Linked DNA regions of Homo sapiens: region 1 is linked to region 2. Evidence: promoter capture Hi-C in 16 types of primary human blood cells and fetal thymus (Javierre and others, 2016). All regions are on one chromosome and are shown on one strand. Each heading gives the region's core, a stretch centred on a gene start or on the middle of the fragment in contact. The rest is flanking DNA. Distances are from core to core; before and after follow the strand shown.

Region 1 (6,284 bases), core at 727-3,226, 230 kb before region 2:
GAAAGAAGATGGGGCCAGGTGCGGTGGCTCATGCCTGTAATCCCAGCACTTGGGGAGGCCTAGGCGGGTGGATCACCTGAAGTCAGGAGTTTGAGACCAGCCTGGCCAGCATGATGAAACCCCGTCTGTACTAAAAACACAAAAATTAGCCAGACGTGGTGGTGCGTACCTGTAATCCCAGCTACTCAGGAGGCTGAGGTGGGAGAATCGCTTGAACCTGGGAGGCAGAGGTTGCAGTGAGCTGAGATTGTGCCATTGCACTCCAGCCTGGGTGACAAGAGCGAAACTCTCTCTCTAAAAAAAAAAAAAAAAAAAAAGATGTACCTTTAAAAAAAAAAAAAAAAAAGCTATGTTTTTATAGGTCTACTTTTTATTATAACCACCCTCAAAATTTGTCATTATAGTTCTTTGGCTTTTTTTAAACAAAGATTATTATATTACCAATATAGTCACAAATGTTTTCTTACCATTGCTTTTTGCAGTCCATCTTTTAGGGTTCACATGGTTATAAATTCTCTTCATTTTTTTTTTCAGCTAAAATATTGTTTCTTTCTCATGTAAATAATCATCTAGTTGAACATAGAATTCAGGTTGACAGTTTCTTTATTTTGGAGGTAATATTCATTTGTTTTAAATCTCCATTCTGTTACCCTATTTCTGTCAATCTAATTGTTATTTCTTTTAGGTCAACTATATTTTCTTTCTAGGAGCTTTAAGGTTGTTGTTTCCAGTTCTTTATGTTCGTTTAGTCTTTTGCATTTCTGAGTTTTATTGTGATTTGTTTAGGGTATGTTTATTTTTATTTATACTGTTTAGAATTTCTATATGCGAACTTGTATCTTTTACCAATTGTGTGAAATTCTCAGCAATTGCATCTTGAAATTAAAACCTCTCAGTCATTCCCTCCATCCTGCCTTCTCTTCTCCCATTCCTGTTAGACAAATACGGAAGCCTCTCAATTTATCTTTCATGTTTCTTGATTTTTCGTTTGTGCTTTATCTTTCTCTTTGCTGTGTGTTTTTCTCTGTGCACATAAAATAAAAGAGATGTACCAATGATCGTTTCCAGGCTTCATGAAGTAAATTGACCCAGAATGATACGTTTTAGAAAACTGATAACAGTGTCAGTAAAATATTACTAGCTGGGCAACAAATTACTAAAAAGAAACCTTAAGTCAGATTTCGGCTTTTCAGAAATTAAAGGTGACTTTCATAGGAGAGCAATATTTGCAAGGCAAGTGTGTGATGCAAAGTATCATCTGCTTGTTTTTTTTTTTTTTTTTTTTTTGAGACAGAGTCTCACTGTGTCATCCAGGTTGGAGTTCATTGGCGTGATCTTGGCTCACTATAACCTCCACCTTCCAGGTTCTAGCAATTCTCATGCCTCAGCCTCCCAAGTAGCTGGGATTACAGACCCGCACCACCACGCCTGGCTGATTTTTTTTATTTTTGGTAGAGATGAGGTTTTGCCGTGTTGGCCAGGCTGGTCTCAAACTTCTGACCTTATGTGATCCTCCCTCCTTGGCCTCCTAAAGTGCTGGGATTACAAGCATGAGCCACTGTGCCAGGCCTGGCTAAACAGCAAGAAGCCATGAAGAAGCTTTTTTGTAACTATAAGAGAAAGGGACTCCTGGTTCTTAGAACTCTCCATCTACTTATTTAATCCTTGGAAAAACCCTATGAGGGAGGTACGATTTATGATTCTTACCATATCCTCATTGTACACATAACAGAAGTGAGGCACAGAGAGGGTTTTTAATATCCCCAAGGTTACACAGCTGGTAAGTATCATTTCTAGGAATTAAACCCAGATACTTGACTTGAGAGCCCTCATATGTTGTTACATTGCCTCTCGTTTCCTGCTGTCTCTGCCATCAGAAATCCTTGTAGCAAGGATGCTGCACTTGTGCAGACTGTTCACTGCCCAATGGCACTGAACTATCATGCCATTTAGTAGCTGGAATACAGTCCATGTTCTGCTTACCAAGCTGTATGTGGCTATACCTGTCTGAATGTAGGGCTATTTCTCTAATTTCCTCATATGTACACATGGGCTAACAGCAGGCTTGTGTCTCATGGCGTCTTTGGTCTCCCCCAGTTATGCCATCTCAGAACTATGACCTTCCCCAGAAGAAGCAGGAGAAAATGACCAAGTTTCAGGTACGTAAAGGATTCCTTGCTGTCTTTTAAAATGTGATTTATTTCTCAAAGATAACAGATTTATTTTTTCTCTTTCTTGGAAAGGTTAGTGGGAAACAGATATTCAGGACATGTGGTATGCTGACATGTATGTGTTTTTTTGTTTTAGTTTATCACCTTTACTATTTTACAAAACAGTGTTTGAAAAAATAATAGAAGCTTTAATCAGAAATAATCTATGCTACTACCCTGCTTATGAACTAGCTTTTTTCATTTTCCCATGTTCCTTTTTCATACACATTTTGCAATACTTGAGTAGATGAAATTTTCAATTGTGCATTCTCCACTTAATTGCATCACCTGCATTGTAAGTGAGTACATCATATGCCATTGAATTGCAGTGCCCTTAAAAGACAACAAAAACTATTTCTTATTTAGCCTTTCAGAAATTCAGAAATTTTAAGAATTTTACTACTTTAAAGTAAATCCAGTGACTTTTTTCCCTACATATAAAAACAATTCCTTCAAAAGAAATTCTGGTGGAATTCAATATTATTTGTCCTTAAAGTTTTAGGAACTCTGCATTGAAGAGGTTTATGTCTCAGTTTCATGTCAGTTCCCTCAGGTGTTTTGTAAACAGAACATCTAAAGAATGACATGGTGTAATTTTATTAGATGCTTTCAGAGAAGAAGAGCTATATATTTTTCCCGTTTATGTTTTTATCACTCATTTATTTCTTGTATGAATTTATTTCATCAAAGTAACTACATGTACGTAAGGTCTAGTAGTACTTAGATGTCTTGCTAGCCCTTTCCATCTGTCATTGCATTTTTCAGATGTGAGGATGGAGATGATTTATTTGCATTTTAAATATGAAGAAACAGGTTATGGGAACATTTTATAACTGCCCCAAATTTCCCAGGTAGCTGACTCATTGGACACTGAAGCTTCCAACTATTAGGAATATCTGGCATTCTATTTTCATGTAAAGGCAGACAGAACAAAAGAGTTTTCCATTCACAGAGATGAGCACATATGATAGAAGTACCTGATGTTACCTTTTTATTCTTTTGAGACAGAGTTTAATTCTTGTCACCCAGGCCGGAGTGCAATGGCATGTTCTTAGCTCACTGCAACCTCTGCCTCCCAGGTTCAAGCGATTCTCCTGCCTCAGCCTCCCAAGTAGCTGGGATTACAGGCATGTACCAGCACGCCTGGCTAATTTTGTATTTTTATTAGAGACGGGGTTTCACCACGTTGGCCAGGCTGGTCTTCAACTCCTGACCTCAGATGATCCACCCACTTCGGCCTCCCAAAGTGCTGGGATTATAGGCGTGAACCAGTGCACCTGGCCCTGATATTACCTTTTGGAGGATAGACCCCAACAATGCCCCTCATCCAGTTTCCATCTCAATTACTGTCTCTTCTCTAGTTTTGTCTCTTAGTCATTCCATGAACGTAGATGCTCAAGCACAGTTTTTATGTAAGTGTTTTAAATTTCCCTACAGCAAAAGCTATCAGGTATGATGGTAAGAGACAGCAGCAAACCGGTGGCATATACTTAAACATTAGGTAAAGGTCTAATAGCTTAAATTCCTGTTAAGATTAGTAATATAGAGAAAATTCCAACTGGAATATGAGCAAAAGAAATGAATAGGAGTGTCATAAAGAAAAGAAATTTATGAAAAAAACTTCACTAATAATTTAAATGTGTGAAAATGTTAATAAAATAGCTTTCTATTTATATATTGGTTTTACTTATATTGTCAATGACTTTTTTAGAAAAAGGAACTGAGTCCTATTTAGCCGGGGTCTAGAGATTCAGGAATGCTTGTACTGTTGCATGAAGAGTGAACTGGGAAAATCTTTGGAGAGGAAAATCTGCCATTACGCTTTCAAAACTTTTTTTTTTGGATGTTGATTTTCTTTTATTTATTTATTTATTTATTTATTTATTATTATTATACTTTAAGTTTTAGGGTACATGTGCACAATGTGCAGGTTTGTTACATATGTATACATGTGCCATGTTGGTGTGCTGCACCCATTAACTCGTCATTTAGCATTAGGTATATCTCCTAATGCTATCCCTCCCCACTCCCCCCACCCCACAACAGTCCCTGGAGTGTGATGTTCCCCTTCCTGTGTCCATGTGTTCTCATTGTTCAATTCCCACCTATGAGTGAGAACATGCAGCGTTTGGTTTTTTGTCCTTGCGATAGTTTGCTGAGAATGATGGTTTCCAGTTTCATCCATGTCCCTACAAAGGACATGAACTCATCCTTTTTTATGGCTGCATAGTATTCCATGGTGTATATGTGCCACATTTTCTTAATCCATCTATCGTTGTTGGACATTTGGGTTGGTTCCAAGTCTTTGCTATTGTGAATAGTGCCAGAATTAACATATGTGTGCATGTGTCTTTATAGCAGCATGATTTATAATCCTTTGGGTATATACCCAGTAATGGGATGGCTGGGTCAAATGGTATTTCTAGTTCTAGATCCCTGAGGAATTGCCACACTGACTTCCACAATGGTTGAACTAGTTTACAGTCCCACCAACAGTGTAAAAGTGTTGCTATTTCTCCACATCCTCTCCAGCACCTGTTGTTTCCTTTTTTTTTTTAACTTTAAAAAAATGTTAATAGAAAAAAAATGCCCAGATAAAGATACCGATCACAGTATCCACATCTATACAATGATTGATCCAGCTGTGGCCCTCCCCTCTCACCCAGCCCCATGTGGCTTCCTTTGAAACTGCAGACTGGAGATGACAGTGGTGAATTCTAGTCCTACTCACTGGATATCAGCATTTCTTTTTTTTAAAATTTTATTATTATTAAACTAAGTTTTAGGGTACATGTGCACAATGTGCAGGTTAGTTACATATGTATACATGTGCCATGCTGGTGTGCTGCACCCATTAACTCGTCATTTAGCATTAGGTATATCTGCTAATGCTATCCCTCCCGCCTCCCCCAACCCCACAACAGTCCCCAGAGTGTGATGTTCCCCTTCCTGTGTCCATGTGTTCTCATTGTTCAGTTCCCACCTATGAGTGAGAACATGTGGTGTTTGGTTTTTCGTCCTTGCGATAGTACTGAGAATGATGATTTCCAATTTCATCCATGTCCCTACAAAGGACATGAACTCATCCTTTTTTATGGCTGCATAGTATTCCATGGTGTATATGTGCCACATTTTCTTAATCCAGTCTATCATTGTTGGACATTTGGGTTGGTTCCAAGTCTTTGCTATTGTGAATAGTGCTGCAATAAACATACGTGTGCATGTGTCTTTATAGCAGCATGATTTATAATCCGTTGGGTATACACCCAGTAGCCATAAAAAATGATGAGTTCATGTCCTTTGTAGGGACATGAACATACATGTGCATGTGTCTTCATAGCAGCATGATTTATAGTCCTTTGGGTATATACCCAGTAATGGGATGGCTGGGTCAAATGGTATTTCTAGTTCTAGATCCCTGAGGAATCGCCACACTGACTTCCACAATGGTTGAACTAGTTTACAGTCGCACCAGCAGTGTAAAAGTGTTCCTGTTTCTCCACATCCTCTCCAGCACCTGTTGTTTCCTGACTTTTTAATGGTTGCCATTCTAACTGGTGTGAGATGGTATCTCATTGTGGTTTTGATTTGCATTTCCCTGATGGCCAGTGATGGTGAGCATTTTTTCATGTGGTTTTTGGCTGCATAAATGTTTTCTTTTGAGAAGTGTCTGTTCATGTCCTTCGCCCACTTTTTGATGGGGTTGTTTGCTTTTTTCTTGTAAATTTGTTTGAGTTCATTGTAGATTCTGGATATTAGCCCTTTGTCAGATGAGTAGGTTGCAAAAATTTTCTCCCATTTTGTAGGTTGCCTGTCCACTCTGATGGTAGTTTCTTTTGCTGTGCAGAAGCTCTTTAGTTTAATTAGATCCCATTTGTCAATTTTGGCTTTTGTTGCCATTGCTTTTAGTGTTTTAGACATGAAGTCCTTGCCCATGCCTATGTCCTGAATGGTAATGCCTAGGTTTTCTTCTAGGGTTTTTATGGTTTTAGGTCTAATGTTTAAGTCTTTAATCCATCTTGAATTAATTTTTGTATAAAGTGTAAGGAAGGGATCCAGTTTCAGCTTTCTACA
Region 2 (6,661 bases), core at 407-2,906:
CAAACATGATAGATTCCTGTTTTCCAACAAGAATGTAGGTGCTATCAGGTGAACATATGTGGCAGCTGTGGAAAGAGCAACATTAAATCAGGTGGTCAGGGACAGTCTCTAAGAGCTGCCTGACAAATAAATCAGCTGTGAAAAAAGCTGGGATGAGACAAGTCCAGAAGGAAGCATAAGCGCAAAGACCTGGTTTCTGTTTAGAAGGTCTCCTGGCCAGGTCTTACCTGTTAAGTTTTTTTAACTTTTTAAACCTTAGCAACTCATCTGTGACATGGGGATAATAGCTAACATACAAACTTGCTCAGAAAATTCAATAGAAATACATTCATTTATTCAAATATTTATTGGCAAGCCTGGCACTGTCCTAGACACCATGGATAAATAATACCTGGCATATAGTAAGCACTCAGTTAATATACACCATCACAGTTACTCTAATTATTTCTACCCTGCGTTTCTTCAGCATGGCGCTGAAACAGTGTAAGCCTTTACTGACCCAGTGACACACTACTAGGAGCCAAGAAGAGAATACACTAAATAAAGACACTGGGAAATTCCTCAAACCTCCCCCATTTCTAGGGGAAGGCAGGTGTGGCTAAGGGGTCTGAATGAACATTTGTGATATCAATGGGATGAAGAATGAGGTCACCAAGAGACCTGGCATTGCCACAAAAGAGAACCAAAGTTCACTCACCTGGAGCTCTAGTGTCAAGAGATGTGGGGTTATTTCTCCTTCTTTTATACAATTATCTCCGAGAAACGAACAATTCCAAGAAGGAAGCCTGTGAAAGAAAAATGAACAGCAGGATAACATGATTTAATCCCAATTCCCACCACGCCACAGGGGGAAATCTCTCAGTGCCAGCTGGATGTAATCTACCCCTTCCTGTAATCTACCCTCGCTACTTGCTTCAGGAGCCGAGGAAAAGAACCTCTCTTCCTACAGGACTCAGAGTACAAGGGACACGCCATTCCTGATGCCCAAAGAAACCGTCTACAAGCCTACTTTCACTGCCCCTTTCAGGAGACAAGGAGAATCAAGACAAAATCTCAAGATTTTAATCCAGAGCTGACTGTCACATGCTGTGGGACACTTACAAGTGAAATTCTGCCTGTGTGTGCTTAGGCGGCTACAAAAAGCAGAGCCAGCAACGATACAGCAAACCAACTCCTAGGACTTGCACAGCGCTTAATACATTTCAAAGGATAAAATTAGAACACAGGGAATCAACTTCCTGTTTACAGAAATGACTTCGCAGAAAACTCTGAAATTACTCCACAAGTGGGTGGGCGGCTACCCTGAGAAAATTCATGTCATCGATCCGCAACTGACACAGTGGAGTCTCCCGCACTGCAGATCTCATCTCAAAGCCAGAGCTGGCCTCAAACTGCTTTTCCAAGCCTGGACTGCGAGGGCTGCCGACCCGGGCCCACCCCGCACAGGCGCTCAGAATGTTCGATACGTGCGCCTCCTTACACCCCTGCCTCACCAGGCCGAGCTCATGGAAATCCGTGGGCTTCGACCCTCCGCCGCACGTTGTCCCTTCACACTGGTCCTATAGAGCCGATCCTAATTCCCATGGCCTGACAGTACAACCGCATGGAGATGCACGTCTCTAAGACGCCTCACCACTGCCTAAGAAGCAATCAAGGTGACGCGCCCACCGGAAACGGAAGTAGTCGACTCGAGGTGTGGGACTACCTTTCCCAGAACCCTCCGCAGCGCAGTCCGATCCTAGGGGCGATGGTGTCGTAAATGCGCGTCCACCTCGAGTCACGCCCACTGCGAGGCGGCGGGAGGCGGCATGCAAGGTGTTTCTGAGTTGAAAAGAATGTCTTTACTCAGTACTAACATATTCGCGTTGTAGCAAACCTGACTATATTCTCAAACAAGCCCATCATCCCATCACCAGGGATATAAAGCATTATTGATTTTCTGGTGTAAAAGCCAACTAAATATTTATTTCAAAAGTAGTTCATATTACATGTAAAGAATGGTTTAAAAAAAATTCTTACTTAATCCCTGGTTTATGTGAGTAAATATGAATTCTTAAGAATCCCATTTCCCAAATGGCATCATAATATTTTGTAATCATTTCTTGCCACAGGTCATATATCGTGGATAGTTCTGTATGTCACAAAAGACGTAGAGATACATAGAGATAATAAAAAAACACAAATTATTTGCAATACTTGCCTAGCATTCTTTAGTTTTTAGGGAAGTTACCCCTTTGTCCTGCATTGAACTTACACTTCTAATTTTATGATATCAAAACTACACACAATCACTTTCTTTAATATTTTCCCAATTTGATGGACTAAATATCCTGTCTTATTTTCCCAATTTGACAGAGTAAATATGCTTATTACCGATTGCATTTCATTGTCATCTTTTATTGTCATACACTCTCTGTGTATGAATGATATCGCTTCTAAGTGATGAATTGCTCCCCCAGTTTCAACATTTATAAAGTAGTTTAGAAAAAAAAAAAAACAAAAAACTTCATCTGACAAGGTATATCAGTCTTTTCATTTGTGGCTTCTTTTTTTTCTCCAGTATGACCAAAAAGACATTCCTTAGCCTGATTCCCAATAAGTGCATATCTATATTCATTTCAGGCTCTTTCATTTTTCTTTTGAATCACCGCGTGATTCATTTAAGTGTATGATATGAAAGGAAGATGGAGTTTCCTGTTTCACCAAAGGATTGTCTACTTTTCTTAACAAAATTTACATAAATATTAATTCTTTCCTTTCTGATTTAAACGGCATCCTAATCACTTACTACATTACTATATATATAATGAAATATTTTCTGGGATACAAGTGTGTTCTGAAGATAGAGATTGCTTTTTCTGTGCCATGATGAAAGGTTTCAGTTACAGTGATAACTCATTTCCTTATCTCTCCCTCCTTGTTGTGTTTCAAAAATTTCATCCTAGAAGTTCTAGAACTCTCTCTTATAAACAGATTATCGAATTGTTTTGATAAATTCTAAAAAATTGCCAATTGACTCCAAAGCATCCAAGCCCTTCAGATATTTGGTTCCAAACCCACCCCTCTTTGCTTGGGTAGACACAGTCCTACTTCCCATCCTGTGTCCTCCAGTTTTACAAATGTCTGAATTTGCTGCTATTGTTCTTCCCTCTGTAAGTCCATCCTTTCCTGTACTATTAAAATCTTACTCCATATTTAAGACACAACTTGAATATAATTTCCTCTATCGAGTGTTTTTGAACTCTATATCATAATTCAATGAACAGATCAGTCTGTGATTGGGAGAATTTCATGCGAGTGTAGTGGATGTTAAATACCACTCTCAGAACATTCTCATTTCCCCGAGAAATCAATAAATTATATTACTCTGGGATCCAGCAACACATGGTTTAAATTGCTGGTTACCACCTTTCACATGGCCTCCATGGTCAGATCTCTAAGTCATCAAAATAATTGACTCTTCTTTTTCTTTATTTTCTTTATTTACCTTTCATGGCTCTGGCACATGGGAAGCACTTAAGCAATTCAATCAAGTGTCTTGGCCGGGCACGGTGGCTCATGCCTGTAATCAGAGCACTTTGGGAGGCCGAGGCAGGCAGATCACGAGGTCAGGAGATCGAGACCATCCTGGCTAACACGGTGAAACCCCATCTCTACTAAAAATACAAAAAAGAAAACAAAAAAAATTAGCCGGGCATGGTGGGGGGTGCCTGTAGTCACAGCTAGTCAGGAGGCTGAGGCAGGAGAATAGTATGAACCCGGGAGAAGGAGCTTGCAGTGAGCCGAGATCAAACCACTGCACTCTAGCCTGGGCGACAGCGCAAGACTCCATCTCAAAAAATAATAATAATAAAATAAACATAAAAATAATTATTTTAAAAAGGTGTCTTGACCTGGAAGCTAAGAGCCAACCTGCACAAAGTGTGGGTAGATGAATCCATTCCAAGGCCCAAGGTAAATATTCAGCCTTCATCCTACCTCATACAAACTGCAAAACACTGTAGAAACCGTGTGTCAACTGAATTTGAAACTGCTGTAATTTCCGACTCCCTAACAGTTTTGTTATTGTTAAGAAAAAATAACCCAATTTTAAGTAGGCAAGGTATTTCCGTAGACATATCTTAAACGAAAATAAACAAATAGGCAAGAGACACATGAAATGACTCTCCACATCCTCAGTCATTAGGGAAATGGAAGTCAAAACAATGGTGCTACTTCACACTCACTAGAATGGTCAGGATTGAAAAGCAGAAAATAGGCTGGGCACAGTGGCTCACGCCTGCATCCCAGAACTTTGGGAGGCTGAGGTGGGCGGATCACCTGAGGTCTGGAGTTCGAGACCAGTCTAGCTAACATGGTAAAGCCCCTTTTCTACTAAAAATACAAAAAATTAGCTGGGTGTGGTAGCATGCATCCGTAATCCCAGCTATTCGGGAGGCAGAGGTTGCAGTGAGCCGAGATCGCACCACCGCACTCCAGCTTGGGCAACAAGAGTGAAACTAAATCACACACACACACAAAAAAAAAACAGAAAATAAAAAATGCTGACGATCATGTAAAGAAGCTGTAACATTCCGGCACTGCTGGTAGGAATTTCAAAATCTACAGCCATATTGGAAAATAATCTGGAAGATCCTCAACATGTTAAACATCATAGAAGTCTCCAAATGATGCAGCAATTCCACACCTAGGTATGAACCAAGAGAAAACATTTGTCCAAACTAAATATTGTACAGGAGTGTTCATAGCAGCATTATTCAAAGAAGTAGAAATCCATCACCTTAAACGGGTGAATCTTATCCAGGGCATCCACGTGGAGACAGGGGCAGACACAGGGAAAGAGAATGAGGAAATGTCTGAAATGGAGGCCGAAAGAGAGACAATGAGAAGGCCTGTGAATGGAAGAAACCGAGCGCAGGGAAAACAGTCATACGTATACATCAGAGATCTGAGAACGCGGGATCATACCGACAGTGTCACTGCCAGGAAAGGGGGTCAAGCTAGGGATGTCCCCGGTGGCGTCGCCCGCAGAAACACGGACAGGTTTGGGGTTCACGCTGGCACGGGCGCCAGCAGCCACGTCAGCAGGCAGGAGGGTCCCACTGCACAGCTGAGGGGTGATGATAGCCCAGGTGGTGATGTCGGCCATCAGAGGGGCCTCTCCTGCCAGCAAATGTGTGACAGTAGCAAGTAAAAGGACAGGTCTTTGTGTGAGGCCGGAATGCGGGAAGGGCTCTTCTGTGGCTGAGTGTGGAGTCCTCAGCAGGAATGTGGATAAATGGCCAGGTAACTGCATCACGTTGGCTAGGAGGATGGCAAGGACTTCGAGCTGAATGATGATAACGGGGAGTGACTGTGAGACCCTGCGAGGCTCTGAGTGTAAAAGAAGATGGGTGCGGGGCCCCAGGGGAGTATGTGGGAGCCACTGCTGTGTAGATGGAGGTCGTTGGGGAAGAATCTGGTGAGCTCTGTGAATTTCCAGGGGTCTCCTGTGTGCTGGGGGCTGACTCTTGCAGAAAACTGGGGATGGTTGGAGAGTAGCTGGGAGACAGGAAAGAGACCCTAAGGAATGGCGGTACAAAGGTCAGAGAGGAGCAGGAGGAGCACGGTGAGGTCTGTGAGTTTCCAGGTGAGTCCTGTGTGTTAGGGGCTGGCCCCAGGAGAAATCTGGGGATTGTTGGAGAGGAGCAGGGGGATGCTGGAGAGTCTCTGAGGGATGGGGATGCAGAGATGGGAGACAGAGGTGAGGAGCACAGGGAGGTCTGTGGGTTGCTAGGTGATGCCCTGAGCATGAGAGGCTGACTCCAAGAGAAATCTGCAGATGGCTGGAGGGGAGCTGGGAGACACAGGAGAGCATCTGAGGGCTGCAGATGAGCAAATGGGAGACATGATTAAGGAGGGCACCGACATTTGTGAGATTCTCGGTGACCCCCAGGTGTGGGGGGCTGTGTGTTGCAGAAACCTTGGGATAATGGGAGAGTAGCTGGGACACACACACAAGTAGCCAAGGGCCTGGAGTACAGAGTTGGGAGACATGGGGATGGAGCCCCGTGAGGACGCTGAGTTTCCAGGTGTTTCTTTGGTATGGGAGGCTAACTAGCTGAGAAAGGTGGGGAGGTCTGAAGAGTAACTGGGAAACGTGGGACTGTCCCTAGGGGGTGGGGGTGAAGACATGGGACACATAGGGGAGGAGTGCAGTAGGAACTGTGAATTTCTGAGTGTTGCCTCGGTGTGTCGGTTTGACTGTTGTAGAAACCTGGGGCTGGTTGGAGTGGAGCTGGGGGAAACCAGAGAGTCTCTGGGGGATGAGTATGAAGAGATGGAACACATTGGGGAGGAGCACAGGGAGGTCACTGAGTTTCTAAGTGATTGCTGCGGGAGAGAGGCAGACCCCGATAGATATCTGGCAATGCTGGGAGAGTAGCTGGGACAGACAGGAGAGACGCTGAGGGCTGGTGAGGACATGAGACAGACTGGGGAGTAACTCAGTGAAAGTGGTGAGTTTGGTGCAGATTTATGGGTGCCTGGAACTGATTCCCGCGGAAATCTGGGCATGGTTGAAGAGTAGCTGTCACAGACAGAAGAGTCCCTGAGGGTTTAAGAATTACCCGTGTAAGTGAAAAGACTTTTAAGAAAGAGTGGAGATATGCGTTGCATAAAT

What was found. Contacts are between HindIII fragments. The CHiCAGO score rates a contact against its expected background, and 5 or more counts as called.
Region 1: a contact is called between a fragment that was not itself captured here and the fragment with the promoter of ZNF229 in region 2, in 4 of 17 cell types (erythroblasts, total B cells, fetal thymus and 1 more). The highest score is 6.9, in erythroblasts.

What each region holds. Positions count from the first base shown.
Region 1 is chr19:44,215,694-44,221,977 of GRCh38, forward strand. ZNF227 (zinc finger protein 227) reads left to right here. Exons shown (of 6, transcript NM_182490.3): 3 at 2,098-2,159. The coding sequence starts at 2,100. Among named protein-coding and RNA genes, the nearest start is that of ZNF227, 6.3 kb to the left of the region's middle. The HindIII fragment of the contact is 758 bases long and covers 1,598-2,355 here.
Region 2 is chr19:44,446,816-44,453,476 of GRCh38, forward strand. ZNF229 (zinc finger protein 229) reads right to left here and starts at 1,657. Exons shown (of 6, transcript NM_014518.4): 1 at 1,494-1,657; 2 at 698-785. The HindIII fragment of the contact is 11,359 bases long and covers 1-6,661 here.